7 separate regions of the Homo sapiens genome follow, and all the other regions are linked to region 4. Evidence: promoter capture Hi-C in 16 types of primary human blood cells and fetal thymus (Javierre and others, 2016). All regions are on one chromosome and are shown on one strand. Each heading gives the region's core, a stretch centred on a gene start or on the middle of the fragment in contact. The rest is flanking DNA. Distances are from core to core; before and after follow the strand shown. Region 1 overlaps BRWD1 (bromodomain and WD repeat domain containing 1). Region 2 has its middle 15 kb from the start of PSMG1. Region 3 overlaps BRWD1 (bromodomain and WD repeat domain containing 1). Region 4 holds the start of ETS2 (ETS proto-oncogene 2, transcription factor). Region 5 overlaps ERG (ETS transcription factor ERG). Region 6 overlaps BRWD1 (bromodomain and WD repeat domain containing 1). Region 7 has its middle 31 kb from the start of LINC01423.

What was found. The method cuts DNA at HindIII sites, captures the fragments that hold promoters and counts their contacts. A CHiCAGO score of 5 or more calls a contact.
Region 1: a fragment that was not itself captured here is called in contact with the fragment with the promoter of ETS2 in region 4 in 1 of 17 cell types (naive CD4 T cells); the score reaches 5.0 in naive CD4 T cells.
Region 2: a fragment that was not itself captured here is called in contact with the fragment with the promoter of ETS2 in region 4 in 16 of 17 cell types (M1 macrophages, M2 macrophages, megakaryocytes and 13 more); the score reaches 13.0 in M1 macrophages.
Region 3: a contact is called between a fragment that was not itself captured here and the fragment with the promoter of ETS2 in region 4, in 4 of 17 cell types (naive CD8 T cells, total CD8 T cells, activated CD4 T cells and 1 more). The highest score is 6.8, in naive CD8 T cells.
Region 5: a contact is called between a fragment that was not itself captured here and the fragment with the promoter of ETS2 in region 4, in 1 of 17 cell types (megakaryocytes). The highest score is 6.4, in megakaryocytes.
Region 6: a contact is called between a fragment that was not itself captured here and the fragment with the promoter of ETS2 in region 4, in 5 of 17 cell types (activated CD4 T cells, non-activated CD4 T cells, naive CD4 T cells and 2 more). The highest score is 7.9, in activated CD4 T cells.
Region 7: a fragment that was not itself captured here is called in contact with the fragment with the promoter of ETS2 in region 4 in 1 of 17 cell types (megakaryocytes); the score reaches 9.5 in megakaryocytes.

What each region holds. Positions count from the first base shown.
Region 1 is chr21:39,229,582-39,232,981 of GRCh38, forward strand. BRWD1 (bromodomain and WD repeat domain containing 1) reads right to left here. Exons shown (of 41, transcript NM_033656.4): 24 at 2,792-2,917; 25 at 2,596-2,703. Among named protein-coding and RNA genes, the nearest start is that of PSMG1, 48 kb to the left of the region's middle. The HindIII fragment of the contact is 1,637 bases long and covers 1,037-2,673 here.
Region 2 is chr21:39,166,851-39,170,403 of GRCh38, forward strand. It overlaps the pseudogene PCBP2P1. Among named protein-coding and RNA genes, the nearest start is that of PSMG1, 15 kb to the right of the region's middle. The HindIII fragment of the contact is 7,118 bases long and covers 1-3,553 here.
Region 3 is chr21:39,205,845-39,208,909 of GRCh38, forward strand. BRWD1 (bromodomain and WD repeat domain containing 1) reads right to left here. Exons shown (of 41, transcript NM_033656.4): 37 at 264-430. Among named protein-coding and RNA genes, the nearest start is that of PSMG1, 24 kb to the left of the region's middle. The HindIII fragment of the contact is 2,102 bases long and covers 243-2,344 here.
Region 4 is chr21:38,803,691-38,807,249 of GRCh38, forward strand. ETS2 (ETS proto-oncogene 2, transcription factor) reads left to right here and starts at 2,239. Exons shown (of 10, transcript NM_005239.6): 1 at 2,239-2,430. RefSeq lists enhancers at 1,038-1,538, 1,072-1,211, 1,392-1,451, 1,462-1,621 and silencers at 1,732-2,061, 2,082-2,151, 2,342-2,631, 2,742-2,841, 2,862-2,961. The HindIII fragment of the contact is 4,522 bases long and covers 1-3,410 here.
Region 5 is chr21:38,394,458-38,397,856 of GRCh38, forward strand. All of the region lies in intron 6 of ERG (ETS transcription factor ERG), which reads right to left. Among named protein-coding and RNA genes, the nearest start is that of LINC01423, 50 kb to the left of the region's middle. The HindIII fragment of the contact is 5,452 bases long and covers 1-3,399 here.
Region 6 is chr21:39,186,857-39,190,361 of GRCh38, forward strand. It overlaps BRWD1 (bromodomain and WD repeat domain containing 1), which reads right to left. Exons shown (of 41, transcript NM_033656.4): 41 at 1-3,505. Among named protein-coding and RNA genes, the nearest start is that of PSMG1, 5.2 kb to the left of the region's middle. RefSeq lists an enhancer at 1,999-2,048. The HindIII fragment of the contact is 1,914 bases long and covers 1,062-2,975 here.
Region 7 is chr21:38,375,571-38,378,891 of GRCh38, forward strand. It overlaps a transcript of ERG not described here. Among named protein-coding and RNA genes, the nearest start is that of LINC01423, 31 kb to the left of the region's middle. The HindIII fragment of the contact is 185 bases long and covers 1,551-1,735 here.

The DNA.
Region 1 (3,400 bases), core at 605-3,104, 430 kb after region 4:
TTTTGCTAAAGTTAATCTCCACATATTTAATACAGTTTCTAATACAAAGAACATCCTTTAGAAAATACATTACAAAAGTGTAAGATTGAAAACACAAATCTCGGATTAGCGCAATATCTAACGACAATCACTGTTAAAAATCTAACATATTTCCTTCTGGCTTTGTTTTGGAAACAGGATCTCACCATGTTGCCTAGGCTGGAGGGCAGTAGCACAATCATGGCTCACTGCAATCTCAAACTCCTGAGCTCAATCAATCCTCCCACATCAGCTTCCCGAGTACCTGGGACTGACTACAGGTACAACATGCCACCACACCAAGCTAATTTTTTATTATTTGTAGAGACAGGTCTCCCTATGTTGTCCAGACTAGTCTCGAACTCCTGGGCTCAAGTGATGCTCCCACAACAGCTTCCCAAAGTGCTGGGATTATAGGTGTGGCCTGCCACACCCAGTCAATGCACATTTTTATTTATATAGCTTTATATTATACAGTGAAAATGTGTAAGCATTCTACTTATTCATAAGTGTTCTTCAAAATCTTGATATTAAGTTTCTGCCTAATACATTCAGTAAGTAATATTTGTTGAGAATCTACCATATGCTATGACCTCTTCTAGGCAGTAGGGACAGGACGGTAAACAAGTGAAAGTCCCTACCTGGATGGAGTATCCATCAAATGGATTTGCCATAGTCAACCTTCCCCCCAGTGTCTGCTTCTCTGATACTAGGAATACAACAGATCATTCATCCACTTATTCACTGAACAAATGTTATTATTATAATGTACCAAACAAAGTGCTAAGCATAGTTTTCATTATTCACAGCAGTTATGTTCTATAGTCACCTAGAACACTGAAATAAAATACTAAATCAGTGCTATAGAGAATATATAGGGATAGGTTCCTGCAAAATTCTGGTCACAACACTGTAGTAAACCAGTGCATACGTAACTTGGTTTTATGCGTGTTTCCGTTTAAAGGTACCTTATTTAATATGTTGTTGATTTGCAAACATTTAACTGATACCTGAATGAAGCTTATCTAACATACCTTCTCCATAAGGCACATCTCAGCCTTCTAGCACTTAAGAACACTAGAGAGCATGTCAGCACTACGCTTAGGGGCCATTTTAAACAGCAAAGTCACCAGAAAAAGCACAAAAATGGAAAACATGTGGCACTGAATAGACCATGAAAAGGACACTTGTTTGCAGTGCGAGAGCTTAAAAAAAAAAAAAGGCAGAGCAACACCTTGTTCAACCTCAACTAGAAACATGCTCGTCAGGCAAGTCAAATTTTTCACCACCCTGAGCATGTCCAGAAATGACCAAAAGGCTCTGAGAGTACTGTTTGGGGGATTACAAATAAAGCAAGTACGCAGTTCACAAATACAGAATCCAAGAATAATGAGGATGGACTGTACTTAGGTACACAGTCCTAAGTTAAACAGACATAAATAAAACCGCCAATGTATATAAAGCCTAACTTATACAAGCAGAGCCATTAAGTTGAATATAAGTGTTAAAAACAGCTATATTTGTTAAAATAACTAGCATTTTCTTCATTTTCTAAGTTTTTAAAAGTATCAAAATCTGTAGAATAAAAATATAAAAAATAAAAAAACACGTGTACTACTACCCCACAGATCATCACCATTGACATTTTGATGTTGTTCTTTTGATTGGCTGCAAATGTTTTCAAAATTTTGCTACCATAACCAGAAATACCACTTCACACCCCATTTTTCCTATTAGTAATACACTGTGAAAATGTATCCATCATTCATTCAACAAATATTTTTCAACCTTCAAGTACAAGATGGGCTGTACATAGTAAGTGACTGTGTGAATGCACCATGATTTGGTTCATTCACTATTGTGGAATATCTGAATTTTTTTTTTCCAGCTTTGTTTCTGTCAACAGTGAGTGAACTACAATACTCATATATTTACAAGCATTTCTGCTTGTTTTCCAAATTACCAGAAGAGTAAAATCACAGAATTAAAAGTTCCAAATATTTTTCAGTTTCAACTACTATTAACAAAATATCCCCTAGAAAGCCTGGACCACTTCACACACCCCACCAGCAATCTGAATAACTGTTAACAAACCAACATCTTTGCCACTTGCTAAAATGTGGAATTCTTTCTTGAGCTAAAAACAAACGAAATCACAAAATTGGCTAAGTATTGAAAAGGAAAAATTATTATTTCCTTATTTTATTATCCATGAGGTTAAACCCTTCTTCCAGTTTTTATTTCTTCTTTTGAAAACTTGCATTTCTTCCTCTGAAAATCTGTCTTGGATACATAAACATTTTTAAGAGTGATAATATATATATTGCCAAGCTGCCTTTCTGAAACTCTAGGTTGTTGCATTTAACATTTTACACACCAATCAGCAACATACAAATTTTGCCCACTGACAAACAAGCCATTCCCACAGGATCTTAAGGTTTGGTTACAGCAGAAATGTTATCAAGTAGGAAAGAAAGTAATAAAATATGTTTCCAACAGGTTTTTAAATAGATTTGTAAGTAATTTAACTATGTATGTGCTAAAATGTTTAATGATTTAATAATGCCATCATCCTACCCTAAGATCCATTTTTCTCCATGGCTCCTTATTAGGGTTCAGTTCATAAATATTATTTCTTCTTACAGCCTCAATATAAGCTTCATGACCCTGTCGAAAATATATTACCTACAAAAGGGAAATATGCATTTAAAAATTAAGAGCAATATAAACTTTATGTTCCATATTCGTGTTTTTAAATTTGTATTACTCTCACCTCATCACCCATTTGAGGAACAAAAGGAGATTTTCTAAGTGTGGTGTCAGTAATCCAAACTGGAGGGTGAAATTCATATAAATGCTCCATATTTGCAAGCTCTGCTGGAGTCATCCTCCGCAAATTCTACCAAGGGGAAGAGAACAAAGTTTCTTAGATTAGAAAGGGGCAGCATGCACTGTCTGAATGAAAAATAAAAGAAACTTTCACCATTCAGAATGACTATTTTTGCCATGTCCATCTAATGATTAGTTTTCACACAGCATATATATTTAGTTCCTTTACACAGGAATATATCACTTAAAAAAGCATTGTAAATCTACCTAACATTTTCCTAGCATCATCTCCTAAATTTCTGATAGATTCTTCATGCTATTTTACATCCCATTTTAGGGGGCTAATACCCAGCCTAAATCCTCTTTTACCCATAGCCTGTTCTGCCAAGACTCCACTCTGAGTTTGGCCACAGGCTAATCATCACAAGGAGTCTCCTCTTGATTTTAGGTTGTAAGACCGGTGATTTCAAAATATGCCTACAAATTCCCCAATAGTTCTCTCCTTTTCAAGAAGTGGAAGTCTCCTCCTCTTAAGTGTGGACTACACTTAATG
Region 2 (3,553 bases), core at 854-3,353, 360 kb after region 4:
ATTGAAGGTGTCCTTCCCTATTGTATGTTCTTGGTGCCTTTGTCAAAATTCAGTTGGCTATAAATATGTGAATTTATTTCTGGGTTCTCTATGTGGTTCCATTAGTCTATGTGTCTATTTTTATACCAATATCATGCTGTTTTGATTACCATAGCCTTGTAATATATTTTGAAGTCAGGTAGTGTGATGCCTCCAGCTTTGTTCTTTTTGCTCAGGATTGCTGTGCATACTCTGGCTTTTTGGTTACATACAAATTTCAGGATTTTTGTATTTCTGTGAAAAATGGCATTAGTATTTTGATAGGAATTGCACTGGATCTGTATATTGTCCTGGACAACATGGTCATTTTAACAATATTAATTCTTCTAATCTATGAGTATGAGACGTCTTCCCACTTGTTTGTGTCCTCTTCAATTTCTTTCATTGGTGTTTCATAATCTCCCTTCTACAGGCCTTTCACCTCCTTGGTTAAATTAATTCCTAGGTATTTTTTTGTAGCTACTGTAAATGGGACTGCCTTCTTTCTCAGCTAGTTCATTTTTGGTGCATAGAAACCCTATTTTTGTATGTTCATTTTCTATCCTGCAACATTACCAAATTTGCTTATCAGCTTTAAGTGTGTATTTTGCTTTGCTTGTAGAGTCTTCTGGTTTCTCTAAATGTAAGACGATGTCATCTGCAAACGGGGACAATTTGACTTCCTCTTAAAAATCTGTATGCCTTTTATTCCTTTCTCTTGCCTGATTGCTCTGGCTCTACCTCCAGTACTATACTGAATAAAAGTGGTAAAAGTGAGCATCCTTCCTTGTCTTGCTCTAGTTCTTAGAGGAAATACTTTCAGTTTTTCCCCACTCAGTATGATGTTAGCTGTGGGTCATATATAGCCTTTATTATGTTAAGATATGTTTCTTCTGTACCTGGTTTGTTGACAGCTTTTTATCATAAAAGGATGTAGAATTTTATCAAATGTTTTTTCTGCATCTGTTGAGATAATCATATGGTTTTTGTCATTCCTTCTACTGTTGTGATGTATCATGTTTATTGATTTGTGTATGTTAAACCATCCTTGTGTCCTTGGTATAAATTATACTTGGTCATGGTGTATTATCTTTTTGGCATCCTGTCGAATTGTTTGCTAGCTTTTTGTTTTGTTCTTTTTGAGAATTTTTATGTCTAGGTTCCTTAGAAACACTGGCCTGTAGTTCTCTTTTTGTGTGTGTGTCCTTGTCTAGTTTGGTGTCAGGGAAATGGTGGTCTTGTAGAATGAGTTGTTTTTTCTTTGATTTTTTTGCAAGAGTTTGAGGAGAATGGGTATTAGTTCTTCTTTATGTGGTTGGTCAAATTGGCAGTGAATTCATTCAGTCATGAGCTTTTCTTTTTTTGGGAGGGTTCTCATTACTGAGTTAATCACACTGCTCATTACTGATCTGTTCAGATTTTCTATTTCTTCTGGAATCTCAGTAGTTGTATGTTTCCAGCAATTTATCCATTTCCTCTAGGTTTTCTAGTTTGGTAGTATATAGCTATTCATAATAGTCTCTGATGATCTTTTGTATTTCTGTGATATCAGTTGTAATGTCTTTTTCATTTCCTATTTTATTTGGGTCTTTTCTTGTTTAGTCTAGCAAGGGGTTTATCTATTTTATCTTTTTGAAGAACCAACTTTTTGTTTCATTGACCCTTTCTACGTCTTTAGTCTTTATTTCATTTAGATTTGCTCTGAACTTTACTATGTCTTTCCTTCTAATTTTGGGTTTGGTTTGTTCTTTTCTAGTTCCTTGAGGTGCATCATTGAATTGTTTCTTTGATATCTATCTACTCATTTGATGTAGGTGTTTATTGCTATACACTCTCCCCTCCTAGAGCTCCTTTTGTTGTGTCCCATAGGTCTTGGTATGTTGTTTCTATTTTCATTTGTTTCAAACATTTTATTTCCATATTAATTTTTATCATTCAGGAGGAGCATATTATTTAATTCCCATGTATTTGTATAGTTTCCAAAGTTCCTCTTATTTCTATTTTTACTCCATTGTGGTCTGAGAAGATACTTCATATGATTTCAATTTTTAAAAATTTGTCAAGACTTGTTTTTTGTCCTAACATATGGTCTATCCTGGAGAATGTTCCATGTGCTGATGAGAAAAATGTGTACTCAGCAGTTGTTGAGTAACATGTTCTACAAATATCTGTTAGATCCATTTGGTCTAAAGTCTAGTTTAAATCCAATGAGTTTTTGTTAATTTTGTCTAGATGATCATGATCTGAGACTGAGGTGAAGTCCCCAACAATTATCGTGTTGGAGTCTACCTCTCTTTTTAAATCTAGAAATATTTGCTTTATAAATCCGGGTGGTCTAGTGTTGGGTGCATATATTTAGTTGTTATTTCCTCATTAGATTGATCTCTTTACTATTATATAATAACTGTTTACTGCTTCTGGCATAAAGTCTGTTTTATGTAAGTACAGCCATTCCTGCTTGAGTTTAGTACCATGTTGACAAAGGGATGCATAGAGAGTTGGTAAAGCATGATTTCTGGGTGTCTGTGTGAAGGTGTTTTGAGAAGAGTTTAGCATGAGTCTGTGGAGTGAGTGGGAAGATTCTCCCTCAATGTCAGCAGGAACCATCCATCCACTGGGGGCCCAGGTAGAAAAAGATGAAGAAATGGTGAATTCTCTCTCTCTCCTGGAGCTGGGTCACCCTTCTTCTGCCCTTGAACAGGACATCACAACTCCAGGCTCTCCAGCCTTTGGACTCCAAGACTGACACCAGTGCCCCTCCCCAATTACCCCAGGCCCTCAGGCCTTTGGCCTAGGATTGAGACTTACACCATCAGCTTCCCTGGTTCTGAGGCTTCTGGACTTGCACTGGGCCATACTACCAGCATCCCAGGGTCTCCAGCTTGCAGAGAGCCTGTTGTGGGACTTTTCAGCCTCCATAATCAAGTAAGCCAATTTCCCTGGTATCTATATAGATATACAATCATGTTTTGCTTACCAGCCTGAAAAATGTATCGCTAGATGAGTCTGTCATTGCATAAACATCATAGTGTACTTACACAAACCTAGATTCTATAGCCTACTACACACCTAGTCTATAAACATGTACAGCATGTTACTGTACTGAATATTGTAGGCAACTGTAACACAATGGTGAATATTTGCATATTTAAACATATCTTATCATTAAAAAGATACAGTAAACATAAGGTATAAAAGACAAAAACCGGCACACCTATATAGGGCACTTACCATAAATGCAGCTTGCAGGACTAGAAGTCACTCAGGGTGAGTCAGTGAGCGAACGTGAAGGCCTAGGTTATTACTGTCCACTACGGTAGACTTTATCAACACTGTACACAGGCTACACTAAATTTATTTTTTAAAAATTTGCTCTCCAATAATAAATTAATCTTCGCATCCTTTTTTTGTTGTTCACTGTGGCATCCAGTTTCTACCCACAAAGAAAAAGCTCCAATGCACCTTTTAATTTTTTGAAAAATTCCTGATATTACAGAACTAAATTGAAATGTATTAACATCTCACTCTTACATTT
Region 3 (3,065 bases), core at 44-2,543, 400 kb after region 4:
CAAGGTGGGTGGATCACCTGCGGTCAGGAGTTCGAGACCAGCGTGGCCAACATGGTGAAACCCTGTCTCTTCTAAACATACAAAAATTAGCCAGATGTGATGGTGTGCGCCTGTAGTCCCAGCTACTTGGGAGGCTGAGGCAGGAAAATCACTTGAACCCGGGAGGCAGAGATCATGCCACTGCACTCCAGCCTGGGTGACACAGTGAGACTCTCTCCAAAATTAAATAAATAAATAAAGCAAGCTTGCCATAACCAGTTTACCTGATACTTTTGTTAGGCTGACTGTCACCTTTACAATTTTGCCGTTGCTTGAACCTCTGGCTTCTTCGAAGTTTTTCATTGAATTTTTGACCAATTTTAAAATCAGAAGAGATTTTCTTCATTTTTTCTTCAAATAAGGCAGATAATCTCAAGGTCATACTATAAATCTGCAAGGATATAAAAACAAAGTAGAATTACAAAATAGCCTTAAAAGTACTTAAGAAATAATTGTAATCATTGAGATCCCTTGCAATGTATTATATCACTGCTTATAGGTAATGGCTGTCACCCACTTCTTCTGTTTCCAACCCCCTTCCCTTAATGACATCTGGAAGTAAGAAGTATCAAATACATACCTCTCAGATGATAAGAAAGTAGTTTGAAGTCAAGCATCTATATTCAGGACTTGTGTCTATATGTCAGTGAATCTCAACTGTTTTTGCCTATTCTAACATCTGTATGTACAAACCCCAAAATATACCCTTCTCCCAAAGTTAGATGGGAAGTTGAATGGTTTTAAGGCTGCTATTTAGGCTACAAAAGCGCTGTCTTTCTTTGGGGCAAGGGAACAAAAGCACTTTTATATACCCATCTCTGTCTGCAATCTGTTTTCAATGCCACCTAATTCTAAAAATGAAACAAAAATACCTTGCATCCAGTAGCAGAAAGTATAACCTAGAACGTTAATGCATATGAAAGATTTGTTTTAACAATGTTTACAATTAAATAACATCAAATCTTAAATACTTTTGGATACAGCTATGTATGTACAGAACTACTCTATCCTCCTCCACGACTTTTCCTGAAAATAAGTGCAAAAGTCTAATGCTCAAAACTTAAATATAATTCTTGTGCATGGCAGTGGATGGCGAAGACACTCCAATACCAGAAAACTTTTTTAAAAAGTATGTGAGATATACGAATTTCTTACATGCTTCTCATATACATATATATATGCTCACAAATGAATGTGAAATTTGTTATACTTAATCTGAAATGATCTTTGACAGTTATTTTCAGTATTTCATATATATAAATTTTATTCTGCCAGGCACAGTGGCTCATGCCTATAATCCCAGTACTTTGGGAGGCCGAGGCAGGCAGATCACTTGAGGTCAAGGGTTCAAGACTAGCTTGGCCAATATGGTGAAACCCCATCTCTACTAAAAATACAATAATTAGCCGGGCATGGTGGCGCAAGCCTGTAGTCCCAGCTACCCGGGAGGCTGAAGCAGGCAAATTGCTCAGGAGTTGGAGGTTGCAGTGAGCCAAGATCTCACCACTGCTCTCCAGCCTGGGCAACAGAGTGAGACAGGCTCAAAAAAAAAAAAGAAAAAAAAGAAAACACACACACACACACACACACACACACACACAAACAAAACTCCAAAAACAACAAGTGTTGGCAAGGATGTGAACAAACTGTGGCTTTTATACACTGCCAGCGGGAATGTAAAAAGGTGCAGCCAATATGGAAAACAGTGTAGTGGTTCCTGGAAAAGGTAAACATGAATTATCCCATGACCCAGCAATTCTACTCTTAGGTCTATACCCAAGGGAATTGAGCAGGGTTTCTGAGAGATACGTGTATTCCAAAATTTGCTGCAGCATTACTCGTAATGGTCAAGAAATAGAAACAGCCGAGCTGGCCATCGATAGATGAATGAATAAGATATGGTATAACCACACACTTTAATATTATTCAGCCATAAAATGGAATAAAGTTCTGATACATGCTACAACATGCATAAGCCTTTAAGGCATTACACTAAGTGAAATAAATAAGCTGGACACAAAGGACAAATATGGTAAGATCTCAATTTTTATATGAAATTATCTAGGACAGGCAAATTCAGACACCGAAAGTTAGAGGTTTCCAAGGACTGGGGGTGAGGGGAAATTACTGCTTGATGGTTACAGAGCTTCTGTGTGGAATGATGAAAAGGTTTTAGAAAGATTATAAACGATGCCACTGAATTGTACTCATAAAAATGGCTAAAATGGCAAATGTTATGTTATATATAGTTAACCATAGTTTTGAACAACTGACAATGTACTATACCAAAAACCACTGAACTATAAGCTTTCAATGGTGAACTGTATGGTATGTGTCCTCAAACATGTATTTGAGGGGCGCAGGGAAGACTTGAATGAAATTTATTTTGTCGCTGAAAAAAAACAGTCTTACAAATGGTGACTTTGACAAAAATCCAAGCTTGGAAACGTTAGCCTTGAACGTTAAACTGATCCAGCAAGCAGTGTGGATCCTGAATCCAAGAAAGAGTTCTCAAATTGAGACCAGAGGCAGTAATGCAGGAGGAGTCTAATATTAAGTAATGACAGGGAAATGCAGTTAAAGCAAAACAGTTAAATGTCACTGATTGTAGACACCAAAAAATGTTGTAAGATCAAACAAGTATTTTACTTTAAATATGACTTTTTACAATTATTCAACACATGAGCTACCTGGAGTCTTGCTCTGTTGCCCAGGCTAGAGTGCAGTGGCATGATCTCAGCTCACTGCAACCTCTGCCTCCCAGGTTCAAGTGGCTCTCATGCCTCATTTCAAGCGGTTCTCATGCCTCGTGCCTATAGGTGGGATTACAGGCAAGCGCCAACACGGGCTAATTTTTTTATCTCTAGTAGAGAAGGGGGCTCACCATGTTGACCAGGCTGGTCTCGAACTCCTGACCTCAAGTGATCTGCCTACCTTGGCCTCCCAAATTCCAGGGATTACAGGCCTCATCAAGTTTTGAAAAGTTACCCAATGTGTAACATGTTAACAAAACTTTAGTAACCTTC
Region 4 (3,559 bases), core at 989-3,488:
GCTCTGCCATTTGGTCTTCCGGCCGGGATCCCTTTCCCAAGGCTTTCACACATTTAAACCCGCGAGGGGCAGGACTTTTTTTTTTTTTTTCGTGTATATGATAGTTTTTTCAAAATGTTTTCTATAAAATCCTCCCTGAGGAGAGCTTGGAAAAAGATTCTTAATAGCTAGATCATTTTGAGTCCTTCTCTACCATGTACTCAACACTCTAACATATTCTGCACATTTGGTTCTATGTCATTTGCCATAGTCTTAAGGACGTAGGTTCCATAATCATCCCTTATTCTGTAGAGGAGGCCCAAGGTTAGTGAGCAGAGGAAGGTTCCACTGTCGGGAACCGGTGGTCTTCAAACTCCTGTGCTCCTCTTTTGATATCTTTCTGCTCATATATGTTGGAAACAGCCCAGCATGAGCAAAGCACCACCTCCTAGCCCCCAGCCTGTGCCAGCCCTGCAAAGAGGAAATATGGCTCCACTCAGGGAGCCCATCAGCGACTCAGGGAGCCCTGGAGCACCTGGCACTCAGCACCCATGAACACGAGGGCAGGCATGGTGGGACAAGGCAGTCTGCTTGGGGCAAGTGAGCTTCGGGAAGTAGCTGAGCTTTGGGGAGCAGCTGTCTATACCCAGCTTCTCAGGGCTGTGCAAGTAGCCTGAGGGAGAAAGACCCTATATTAGCTGAAACTGCAGCCCAGATGAGTCAGTATTTTCTGCTACGGTTTTTTAAAAAAATAGTAACATACTCATGTCTCCATGGTAACTTACTATGGATCTGTATTCCATTTATGGAACTCTTTCTTGACCTATCTGTGTTCTCTAATCTGGGCCTGAATATACACTGAGAAGCCATCAGAATCAATTCAGTCTCCAAGAAATAATCACTTCCCCTATACGTGATTGTTTCAGCCGTATAGATTCTGACTGTGACTCATGCCACGGTGATACCCGGAGACCTTCGGGGACCCAGAAACATTAAGGTGCACCGATATCTCAATTATCCGGATAACTCTAGACCTAGAGTCACCATGGAAACCTAGAACCCTGAGTCACAGAGAAGCTGGGCCATTCCTCTCCCTTCCCGGTGGTGCCGCAGTTCTTGAGATGTGAGCAGCTTTCAGCCCCGTGGCCTCGCCTAAGCTGGGGTTTCCTATTTCATCCACAACTTCAGGAATCTAAACTTTCCTGCAAAATATTGAGCATGTGACCTGAGTCCAAACAGCCATGGACTCAAGCACCTTCTGATAAAAACGGAAACCACAGTGTAGGGGGTGGTTTTGACCAGGGTTTCGGAGTCAGATAAACTCAGGTTTCCACCTTGAATTTCTCATCAATCTGACGTGGCAGGTTATTCATCCTAAGGTTCAGTTCCCACCTGTGTAAAGTGGGAGCCGCAAGTCCTCCGAGAGTGACGATGATGTGCGTGGAGTGCCCAGCCCAGATTGAAGCGCGGCCAAGGCGGGTCGCTATCTGGGCACCGCTCAGCTCCAGAGGGCGCCACTCCCGCGGAGCCTGCGGGATCGGGGCTTCCCGGGAGCAGCGCGATCAGCACCACGACTCGGGGACACAGCCAGGGCCCGGTTTCTACAGGAAGCGCCTCATTTGGAGCCTTTTTGTGATAGAATGATCATTAGTCCTAAGCCCATTCAGAGGTTCAAGAATGGGGTCGGCTCAATTTCAGGGCCTTATTACCCAAGCCCGGCTGCCCTTCGGTGCCACCAGCACCACTGCTCCGTCGCTGCGGAATTCCAAAGGCAGGTTTGGCGTTAGGGCCTTGGCCCCAGAGAGGACGCCGAGCGCTCCACGGAAAGTCTCCGCCCGGCTCCCAGGGCGCACACTCGCGCGCACGTGGGGCCGAGGCCCTGCTCCCGGGGCCTCAGGGCCAGCCGGCGAGGGACCCAGCCGAGTGACAGCAGGAGGCGGAGGGAAGGTTGGGCCGGAAGGTGTCAGCCCCGCCCCGCGCTCCCTCGCCGCCTCCGCCCTCCTCTTCTCTCCCCTCGTGCGTTCCCTCTCCTCTCCCTCCGCTCCCCCAACCCTCCTGCTGCCCCCTTCCCTCTCCTCCCGCTTCTCCCCATCCTGCCTACCTCCCTTCCCCTCCTCTTCTCTCTCCTCCCCTTCCCTCCCCTCTCTCTTCTCTCCTCCCTCGTTTCCTCCCCTCCCCTCCACTCGGCCGTCCCTCCTTCCTCCTCCCTCCTCCCTCCTCCTCCCGCTCCTGAAGAGCGCGCCGCGTGGGGGACGGCCCGGTTACTTCCTCCAGAGACTGACGAGTGCGGTGTCGCTCCAGCTCAGAGCTCCCGGAGCCGCCCGGCCAGCGTCCGGCCTCCCTGATCGTCTCTGGCCGGCGCCCTCGCCCTCGCCCGGCGCGCACCGAGCAGCCGCGGGCGCCGAGCAGCCACCGTCCCGACCAAGCGCCGGCCCTGCCCGCAGCGGCAGGGTAAGAGCTGGGCCCGCAGAGAGCGCCCGGCGCGCGGCTCCAGTCCCATGGAGGGTCACCCGGGGCCTGGGCGGGGGTCGCGGGGGGCACTGACACGCAGATCTCGGGGCGCTGCCGGGGGTGCAGGTGGGGGTGGCGGCTGCTGCGAGGACTCTAGGGGCGCGCGTCTGAGTTCCGCGCCGGCTCGTTTTCCGGTTATGGAGTGGCCTCCGGGGCTGGCGGGGTCGGCCGGGGGGTTCCTGCGTGCTAGGGCCGCTGTCTTCGGGGTCGCCTAGCGGCGGGCGCGGCCAGGGCGCGCTGGCTTGTTTCGCTCGCTTTTGTTTTTAAAAGGAAACGCAGGCCTGGTAGGGGGTCCTGCCCAGTGGATGTCCCGGCGAACATGATTTCGCGAACGGGAGTGGGGGCACAGGAGAGCGTGTCCGAGGTGGCCTGGCGCCCCGGCTTTGAGGGTGACTTCCTGGAGCGGCGCCGGGCCCGGAGGATCTGGGGCGCCCAAGACACCTGAAGGCTGCGGCACCGCGGGAACCTGCGGGGCGCGGGGTGCCATGGTCACCTGCTCGCCGCGTCCAGGGCCCGGGCTGGGGACCCCTCGGTCGTGCGAGGAGAGCGTGGGGAACCTGTCGGAAATGAGATCTGGTTGCGCTGGGCTGCCTTTATTTTCTCGTTCCTACAGCATTTGAATGAAGAGGTAACTGAGTGTTTGCTTGTGTGTGTTTGGGTTGCGTGTGTGTTATCCTATTTTATTTTTTACGGCAGGAGACCTTTTATGTTAGCCTGTACACAATTTCAGGGTAGCCTAAAACAGTAGTTGACGCGCTAGTTATTTAGAAAGTAAAGAAATGAGCAGTCCCCTTTGGAGACAGGAGTAATTTATTTTAATTCGCCAGTAAGAGATTATATTTGTTCCATACAATGGAAGCGCCTGTGCGTTATCTGCCTGCCCACACCACCACCAATCAGAGAGATAAATCTCCACGTTAAGCTTTATTAAAATTCTGAGTAGTAGCGCAGCACAGTAAATGTTAGCACCGACCATCCGCAGGGAAATGCTCAGATACTCATTTCTGGGATTAGTCATTCATCTCTCTAAACTGATCGCTTTCAAAGCGAAAAAAGCAAACTACCTTCA
Region 5 (3,399 bases), core at 600-3,099, 410 kb before region 4:
TTCTCCTGCCTCAGCCTCCTGAGTAGCTGGGACTACAGGTGCCTGCCACCATGCCTGGCTAATTTTTCGTATTTTTAGTAGAGACAGGGTCTCATGCTGTTAGCCAGGATGGTCTCGCTCTCCTGACCCCGTGATCCGCCCGCCTCAGCCTCCTAAAGTGCTGGGATTACAGGCGTGAGCCACCGCGCCTGGCCTCAGAATCAGCATTTTAACAAGATCCTGGGTGACTCTGGTGCACACTGAAGTCTGAGAAAGCCTGCTCTAGACCATTGCTCTTTTCAGGAACTCTGTTCCTGCAGATGATTTCAGAAATGCTATCTAGAGTGTGCAAAGACAAACTAAAAAATGGTTGAAAGAGTTCTAGATGGATTGCTTTTACCCATGGCATAAGTATGCTAATGGAATGAATAGACAGCATCAGTAGGTTAGTCAGATACTACCTTAAACATAAAATTGTTGCTCATGAAATGTGACTGGGAAAAAAAATAAATGCCGAACTACTATTCCCAAAATATTTTGAAACTCTTTATTCACAAAATCCTTCATATGGTGTATAACCATATCCCATCCTCCCTCGAAAATAAGTCGAAACTTAACACCAAACAGTCTACTTTTCAGCCAAGTATTTGAGACAGTTATATGAACAATGATTCACATGTTCATAAACATATTGCCGCGGAAGATAAGTGGGCTTTTGTTTTCTTCCATGACATTCTGGTCCAATGCTTCCTTATCGGCTACCGATCACATGCTGTGGGCACTAAGTATCCCCCTGTGGGATATGACATTGGGAAACATTCAACTCAGGCTCACTGAGATGGGGGACAGCCAGGGGTGACTTCTTTGGCAGCTACACCATCTCAAAACCTTCGTAGTTCTGCTCTTGACTGCTTGAAAAATCACTCCTCTATGTATCTTTGCTATGTGTCCTTTATTGATAATAGAGCATCAGACTTCCAATAAGAATATATTTTACATTTAATTTTCGCTGATCATTTCAACACCCTCTCCATTTCTCTTTGACTTTGATCTTCAAGGCAATGAACTCATATGCTTGGCAGAAGTGCCCATGTAAGGGAAGGCTGCTTTCTGGCACTGGTTCTGTTGTTTTATCTGTAAGAGACTGTGTTTAAAAACTGAGCTTTATAGAAGTCATTGCATAGGCAGCTTGGGTGAACACAGATGTACATTACATCACAACAGTATAAAAAACAGCATGAAGCTACAAATAGGGACTCGGCTAGTGCTGACCACTACACACCAGCAACTGTGTCGATTTCCTGGGAGCTGGGATCAGCTTCTCATTCTGAATGAGACTCCTCCTCCACCACACCCTTTTGAAGACATCACTAAATTAATACAACATTCTGGCTACCCTTTCCTGGAGGGCTAAGTTCAGCCAAGTTTTACATTCTCCCTTCATCAAACTCACTGAGGAGGAACGCTCTAGCTCTTGCCCCACACACCCCACACCGCCACCCCGCTGCCTACCCGCTTTATTTTTTAAAGGGCAAGAATGTGGATCGTGGAAGAGCTCATCCTCATTCTGCAGGATCCACACCATATCTGCAAAGCAACTCTGGAGGTTCCCTGGCTGGGCTGGATGGGAACAGATGAGATTTGCCTGCTCTTGAAATTAGATGCTAATGGGGAACACAAATTAGGAAGAGCAAGAGCTGCTGCTAAGAACCAATCTAGAAGTGTCTGTGAAATGAAAAAAAAAGTTTGAGTCAACCTTAACATAATTAAGTTGCTCTCTATTTTCCTCCAGATCTTCTTAAAATTCTACATCAAAGTTTGAGCATGGAGTTTTGGAAACATTTTGCATTCCCTTCTTGCCTAGGTTTGCATATCCCTGTGGTTATATAAGAACTAAGCGGAAGCAAAGAATGCAATTTTAGCCATTTGCTAAGATACAGGCTTTACATAACACCTAACTGAGAGATGCTATGCAGTAGTTGTATTGTCTCACTATGCCTAGCTGTGCTGAAAAGCACTAGGCTGTGAGCTCCAATGGAGGAATAATTTAAGATTCCAAGAAACCCCTGAAGAGCAGCAGCTTCAAAGTAGAAGCAAAGGCTGCATTTGCAGGCTTAACTCTCTAATCTCTTTTGATAACACCCCAGAGGCATATCATAATATATGGGTTGTCATGGGGATGGAAGAGGAAAGGATGGGGTTGCAGAACATCATCCTTGGGATAGAACTGAGCTTTTGCATGACCTGCTCCTAAGAGGACAGGCAGGGTGGTGCACTGTGTAGTTAATAGGGGCTTGCAAGATTCTGTGGATCTGTTTTTGCCACTTTTTCCCCTGAGACCTCAAAGGGCTATGGCTCCAAAAGAAGTGGATTCAGCAAAAAAGAAGGGTGTTTGTAGAGGAGGTACAGAAAGGGATTCTGGTCGTAGTAACTGCAACAACGTGAGAAACACGTGAAACATCATAAAATAAAGTATAATAAAATATATATATATTTAAAAAATCATAAAACCACAGAATGTAAAATGATATGCCTATGGGTTGATACTTTATGAGAGTAGAGAAGACTGTCTCAATGCTAATTCAACAAAGGGGTTGTGAAAGAAGGTAAATCTTGAATCAGGAAAACGTGGGAAAATACTAGGTACGGGCATGCAAGGAAAAGGGATGAGGTTTGGACAAATGGCAGGTAGTGGTGGTGGCAGGGCATGTTCACATGTGGTCCCCTGTGAGGTCAGTGAACGGCCTCGGCCAATTGTGCAGGGAGACTGAACTGACACAGCAGCAGCGAGACTGACCTGACAGGGAAGCAGTCAGGGGGCTCTGGAATAAATGATCCACTTGGGAAGGTGGGCCATGAACAGAAGAAAAGGTAGATTGGGGGCTGGGCATGGTGGTTCACGCCTGTAATCCCAGCACTTTGGGAGGCAGAGGTGGGCGGATCACGAGGTCAAGAGATCAAGACCATCCTGACCAATATGGTGAAACCCTATCTCTACTAAAAATACAAAAATTAGCTGGGCATGATGGCATGCGCCTGTAGCCCCAGCTACTCGGGAGGCTGAGGCAGAAGAATCACTTGAACTCGGGAGGCAGAGGTTGTGGTGAGCCGAGATTGCACCACTGCACTTCAGCCTGGCAACAGAGTGAGACTCCATCTCAAAAAAAAAAAAAAAAAAAAAAGAAGAGAAAAGAAGATAAAAGAAAAGAAAAGGTAGGTTGGGGCAGTAACCCAGGGATGGGTGACTCACAGTGGGAAGGGAAGGAGGGAAGGGTGGTGAGGAAGTGCTGGGAAGGTGGATGCAGCAGGACAACACACATGTGTAGGAGTCTCTGCAGAAAGGGTGCGGAATGCTGTCTAATTTAACCAGTAAACCCTGAACACCACTGTCTCCTCTATCAGGGACTCTATAATGAAACG
Region 6 (3,505 bases), core at 769-3,268, 380 kb after region 4:
CATGTCTGTACAAGAGCTGACTGGGAGGAACCCACTGGATTATGGCTTTTAGAAAATTCCTCCAAAGATGCCAATAAGGGAGTAATTTTAGAGCTGGGAGCAGAATGTAACTGCCAGTTTACTTGTGTACCAATTGTTTTCAGATGCCACTTCTACATTCTCATAGTCACTATTGTGCATTTTCTTTCCAGGATCTGAACCCCCTTAAAAAAAGCATTTTTCTATTAATATCTTCTAGCTCTTTTTCACTTTCAGAATTTATGGTTGTATCATCCTCTTTATAAACATTCAGTAATTTTTTCTTAGCCGCAGCAGAAGCATTTCGATGGGGCAGTTTTCTGCTACTCTTCCTAATCCAGACATTTTCTGGTCCTGAGATCGTTTCTTTTAGATTACTCATTATCTTTATTTTATTTGCAGCAACAGTAGCACATCTGCGGGGAACTTTCTCAGGTACCATTTTTGCTTTCAGAGTTTCACTAGGCATCTGCACTGCATCCTTCTGATTATGCATACATGTTCTCACTTTTGTATTGGGTTCTCTGTCTCTAGGAACAAATTCTGAAAAATGAGTGAAAGTTCATGTAAATGCAAAAATCTTGTAACACAAGATTTTACTACTGCTAACATTCCTCAACAACACTCATTCGGAAACAATAAATTTAAAAGTCATATTGCTAAATGATAAATTTTAAAATGTGATACTAAGGGCTTCTTCACATTGATATAACCTTACATTTGCTTATCTACAACTATAAGGATGTCACTTAAAACAGTAGCAGACTTGTAAGAATGGGGTGAAAAGTTCCTTCAGCATCGGCATCATAAAGCTGCTAATCTAAAAACATATATATGAGCATTTTACATAATTTGAATTACTAAATCTTAACTTCATTGTTCCAGTATTTTCTGACCTAGGTATGTGACACACGAGATTCAGATTAAAATTCTAAAAAATAACACAGAGTTGCTTTAAGGAACCAAAAAGTGCAGAGTGCTATGAGAACACAGACTGGAAACCTAACCTAGCCTAAGGGATCAAGGAAGGCTTCCTTTAAGGAAGCTTTTAGACGAGAGGTGAAAATTGTGAAGGGATTTGCCAGACAAAAAGCACTTTGGAGAGTTAACTACTTCATGCAGACTAAGGCAGTTTTTAGAGGGGGCTTGAAATCACACTGGAGCTCTACACAGCCACATGATGCCAGAGCTACTACTCCGTGCTGACCAAACTTAGGAGGGCTCAGATATGTTTGTTACCAGTGTCTCAAAGCCAAATTTTCAAATTTCACAAACAAGTCTAATTAGTACTCTTCTAGAACAGAAGTGATATTCCTTTTACGTATCTGAAGTTCACGGGCCCTTGAATTTTAGGTCTTTCTTGCAGCCATGAACAGTCAAACTATCTAAAACTGCCTTCATGGTACACACCAATCTTGATGGCAGTTTGTTTTGTAGGACCCTGCCTGAAGTTTCCAGACATTTAGCATTCAAAAGGTAAGGCTGTAGATCACTGAAATAACCAGTTGATATCCTCCACCCACACTAGACATCTGGAGGACTCCACCACATTCTTTTTACTACTAAGTACTAGAAAATGAGAGCTCTTTTAGTCAGATACTATCAAGTAACACTATTATTCTGTAGCAATGAAACCACCAATGCCAACCTTCTGAACTTTTTCTTCTGTGAAGATGTTTGCCCTTCTGTCACAAAGCTGACTGAAGGGCAGATGAGTACAGGTAAAAACTGCTTCTGTGGACTGACATGTTCATACAGCTAGACTAATGAGGCAGGCCTCTGCCCTCACAGTGCAAGCACTTCAGATTTTTCCCTAAGTCTATGAAACTGATTTCACACTTCTCTAAGATCAGTTGAGCGTTCTCCCCAGAATAGGTTAGGAAATACTTTATTCAAAGCAACCCCACCACATACACATCAGTTCCTTTTGCCAACTAACTTATGTGATTCACATGTTTTTCCAGTGAAATTCTAAGGGCACTATGTTTTGTTCAGTGTTCAGTCTCCAGGCATTGTAAATGGCATTTTACCAGAGTAAGACACTCATCACGGCATTACTCTCATGCAGCATGCCCTTACCTCCTTCAGCTGGACTCTGTGGGAAGAGAAGTGGCTTAAAGTGCACTGTGTTTACCACTTCAAAGACACTTCTCTTGGGAATTTTAAAATTATGAACTAGTATCTCCAACAAGTCAACCCTATATCCAAAATGAATCTTTAACACATTAAATCAATGTTAGCAAATGCTAAAATGTAAATATGCTACAAAGGGTAAACAAAAATTTTAAAATATGCAAAATTAAGGTGAAATTTGCACTTTATAGTAGGATGAGAATATACTATTATCAACTAGCTGCACCATTTGCATTTGGAAGAAAAGAACAGATAACTGGTTCATTCCCAACAACCTATTCATCCAGACAAATAGATAAAATTCTATTTCAACTACAATTTGTAACAAAATGCTTTAAGTTGCAGAAATTCCATTTTGATGTGTGATCAAAGTACCTATACTGACAATTTAGGAACCTAGTAAATACTAATTCTAACACATTTTAATAAATGTTTATTTGTCATCCAGAATAATGGAAAAGTTAAGATTCTGCAGGAAAAAAAAAACTAAAATCAGGTTTTTAAAAAATACTTAAGGAAATTTGAACTTCAGTAACTATGCCCAAGGGAGGGAGAATTTGAATTACACTGTACTCTAACTTGATAAAGCTGAATCTCTTAAGTCTTAGACAATAAAACAGGAATTTCAGAGAATAAGGATAAAAACAATCTGAGGAAGACAAAACTGTGGAGAATTTTTTTAAATACATTCAAGTCAGTGTTAATTTTATTACTGAAAACTGAGTAAATTATAAAGTGCTTTTTCTCAAGAAAACTACAAACAGTTTTAGAAATATATATAGGATATTTCAGGGTTAGAAGTCAAATTTGTGTGTTAGGGTACAAGCTTAAGAACTCTGGATGTTGCTGCTCTAACAATGCATTTGTGATGGTGCCATGTGATACTAAGAAGTCAGTAGAATCCCACCAGTCCTACTGCCTCAGATGAGTCTTGTTTCAGTCATGGGTTTACAAAGTCATTGAGTGCTTGAGGACTTGTTTTCCTGGAAGTGATTCCCTACTTGGGTATGGCAAGAACACATCAGTAGTGTAAAACTGTACATCTGTAGTAGCACTCCATGATCATTTCCCTGGATGACCACTTTAAATTATAACTCACAGATATGTGTGTATTCTAAGATGGTATATGTGGTGAATAGAAACCTGGATACAAACATAACAGTTCTGACTCAACACAATCTCTAGTTTCTACATTTCAAGGATTAATCATATTCTAATTAGACTTTTTTTTAATTTTTAAGCTACCTTATTTACAGATTCTGCACAATATTTCATCATACAAAACTGTTTTCCTAAATTCAAAGTAAACTGCATATGGTTACTACAGAAGCATTATAAAATTTTCATTGGCATT
Region 7 (3,321 bases), core at 393-2,892, 430 kb before region 4:
CCCACAGAGCCCGACACACCGTGGAACAAAAACTGAGAATTGGATTGAAGAACTGGATTGAGAAAAGGAAACACTTTGGTGAAATCACAACCTGTAAACAGACCTCAAAACATAGTGTTCACTCAACTGAAGCTGAACGTTCTATAGCCTGGGTTCATTTGGCTTGATTGCGCATCACTTGTTTACTTGGTGTGTATAACACTCCACAGGAGTCACAGGGTCCTTTTATAGGCATCTCTGGTCTGTTGTGGGCCCCGGGTAGTCATAGTCCCACTGTCTTGCTCATTATCCTCCTGCACCCCCAACACAACTGGACATCACACACTAACTTAACAATTCAGCCTCCTTCCAACTGTCTTACCCCTTCTATCTAGTTTCTTCCTGCCTTAATTAACTTCCTAGCATCATATGAATAATCATTTGTTTGTTTGCTCATCCTATTGTGGTTGCCCATCCTATGATCTTAACAAGTACTCAGCCTTCCTTGAATGAAAGCTATAGACCCTCTGTTAGTATTTTCTTTTTAATTGGGGTAGGGTGGCTTAGTGAACATGGACCTGACAGTGTTGGTTTAAAATCCAGTGACCATTGCATAGTTCCACTTTAAAATGCCCTATGTCACATTAGTGTGAATGCACAGAGGCACAGACAGGCCCAGGGTCTCAGGTTAGAAAATATGATGAGGGGAGGGGTTTCTTCTAAAGAGAACTGTGGAATTGTCGGATGTGAATCTGGGCCTGTTGTTCGTTTCTCGCTATGCATGTTTCCATGGGACGGACACTCAGTTGTTACTCTCGCTCTCTCCCACCACTTCCGCTCTCTTTCACAGGAAGAGGCGGGTCCTACCCTGATGGAAACCGGTTCTGGTCTCTGTCCAATGGGAGTCGCTTCCTGTCCTGCACCTTCCCAACCACATCAGTGAAAGGGTGGAAGTGCTGGTCTGCCCACTGCAGGCTTAACCCATGTTCTTCCTACTAGGAAAGGGACGTTTCCATTTTCATCCACCTGACTCCCGAGTTGGTTGCAAAGATGGAAGAAAGGAACAGCCATTTATTCTCCTGGAGGCAGGCCCTGCCGGACTTGAGAGGGCCTTTCCTCTGACCCTAAGCATCAGAGCGGATGGAGACAGAAAATCCTGAGGCCGCTGTATGGTGGGTCTCTTCACAGCCATGGGGCCCAGCCCCACTCGCCTCCACCAGGTTATGGCCCAGCAGCTGGGACTCCGTCCAGAAGAGCACCTGCAGCACGTATCCTGTGTTCTCCATCAAAGCGGCCTGGAGTCCGCCTGCGTCCCCAGCAAGCAGCACTCCCGCCCTAAAACCAAAGGGCGCAGCAAGGAAATGGGAGGGCTGCGCTTTGCTTCCTGTCTGATAACTACCAACAACCGGGCTTCTGCCCAGCATAGCTAGATAAGGGGAGGGCACTCCATTTGACATGCCCTGAAGACTGTCCAAGCGATGGCTTAGGAAGGCCATTCCAATTTCAAGTCCTGAAAGCTGTAAGATTTTTCTGTGACTTAGAGTGATTTATAACATAGTTTAACCTCTCAAAGCTTCACATCTGTAAAATATGGATAAAACTATCTCAAAGCGGTATTGTGCAAGTTAAATGAAAAAGATAGTGTATGCACATTGTTTGGCACTAAGCTATTATTATTATCAAAAGTAGTAGCAATTAGTATTATTGTTTAAAGGAGAAAATGATATCCATTGGGAGGCTCCTCTTTGGACCTGAAAGCTTAATATCTGGAATTACTTAGAACTGGAATGCCAGCCTCCGCCTCCTGCCAGCAGCCTGCTGCCAATTCTGATGAGACAGCTTAGAAACCATTGCCCTGATGCCATAGAAAAGAAGAGGACAGCTAGCCTTTTCCTTTCTCTTCACCCTTAATTTAAAAAGGTTGGGCAAGTTACACATCCACCCACCTCCAAACCTTTCAAACAAGTTTCAGTTATATTCTTGCCGAGTAGAAAAACCAAAAATTAATAAGAGAACTTACTTAAAATAAAAAGTTGTTAACATCTTGATACATCCTGGCTTTCCAGTTAAGAGACTTTACAGAATGGTTCGTGACTTCTACACCAAATTCTTTCTTGTATATTTTGTCTACACCCCACCCCTTCCTTAGCCTCAACCTCATGAGTGCAAATGGAGATCAGCCCTGGCTCCTGGCATCCCACGACGACTTGGAGGTGGAAATTGTTAGTCTGGAGTGGGATTGAGGGCCCCTGAGGCAGACTGACACTCTTTCAGCTGATGCATGTCTAATGCTGAGCAGGCTGTGACCAACCACCCTCAGGACATGTTTTTATGCAAGTGTGCTGTAGGGGGTGGTCTTCCTCATAAGTGAGAAAACATGAAAGCAAAGTTCATTTATCCCATCAGTTGGCTGCTTCTCACCATTCACCTGGGCCCTGCAGTGCTGAGAAAATAGGATGTATTTTAATCTCCAAGCAGACTGGACTCCAATCAATTTAGAGACACAGAGCCACAACATAATTCAATTTGGGGTGATTCCACTGTCTCTGTAATGTCTAAAGCCCTAATGTACTGCTGACTCTTAGGACAAACTGGCACTGATCAAGAGTGAGGCCACTAAGCCATCACTGATTTCAGACTCTCACCCCTGACTTTCTATGTATGGACAACACTTAATATTTCACAGAACCCAAGTTGCACTGGACCGAAGAAGACCTAAATAGCCATGTAGTCCATGTGCTGCCAAACACCTGGCAAATAGTTGCATGGTTGTTAAATAAGCACACCTCATATCCAGGAACTCCTGGACAAAGGCTGACCATTCCATCTGGACCTCCTCCAACTTCTAAAAAGCTTTCTCTTGAATTTGGCCAATGGGCATCCCTGCTGAGCCCACCTTTAGTCCAGATGTTACCTTTCTGGATGTTCATTCATGCATATAGCTGCAAACGTTTTCCAACAGCTTGATATTGCTAGGCACTGTGCTGGGTCCTGAATCAATGGGTGATAAGGGTAATCCCACTTTCAGCAGAGACACTGACAGCCCCTACTTGACATGGTCCTGGGTTCTCTCATTCCCCTTGTCTCTCCCCACTGAACCTGCACTAACTGTCCTATGTCCCTCTTTAAGTGTAGGCCCAGAATTGATGTTGCAGTCTAATGTATAACAAATAAGTCCTCGTTTGTGACCTGTTTCAGAAAATGCAACCTAAGATTGGGCAGTCATGTCACCTTCCCGTTTAATTTTCTGTCCATATGAGGCAAAATAGCTTAAGATTAAGAAAAAGCTTTTGGAATTAACTAGCCCTGGAACAAGCATTTGTTGCACCTCTTACGCTGCAG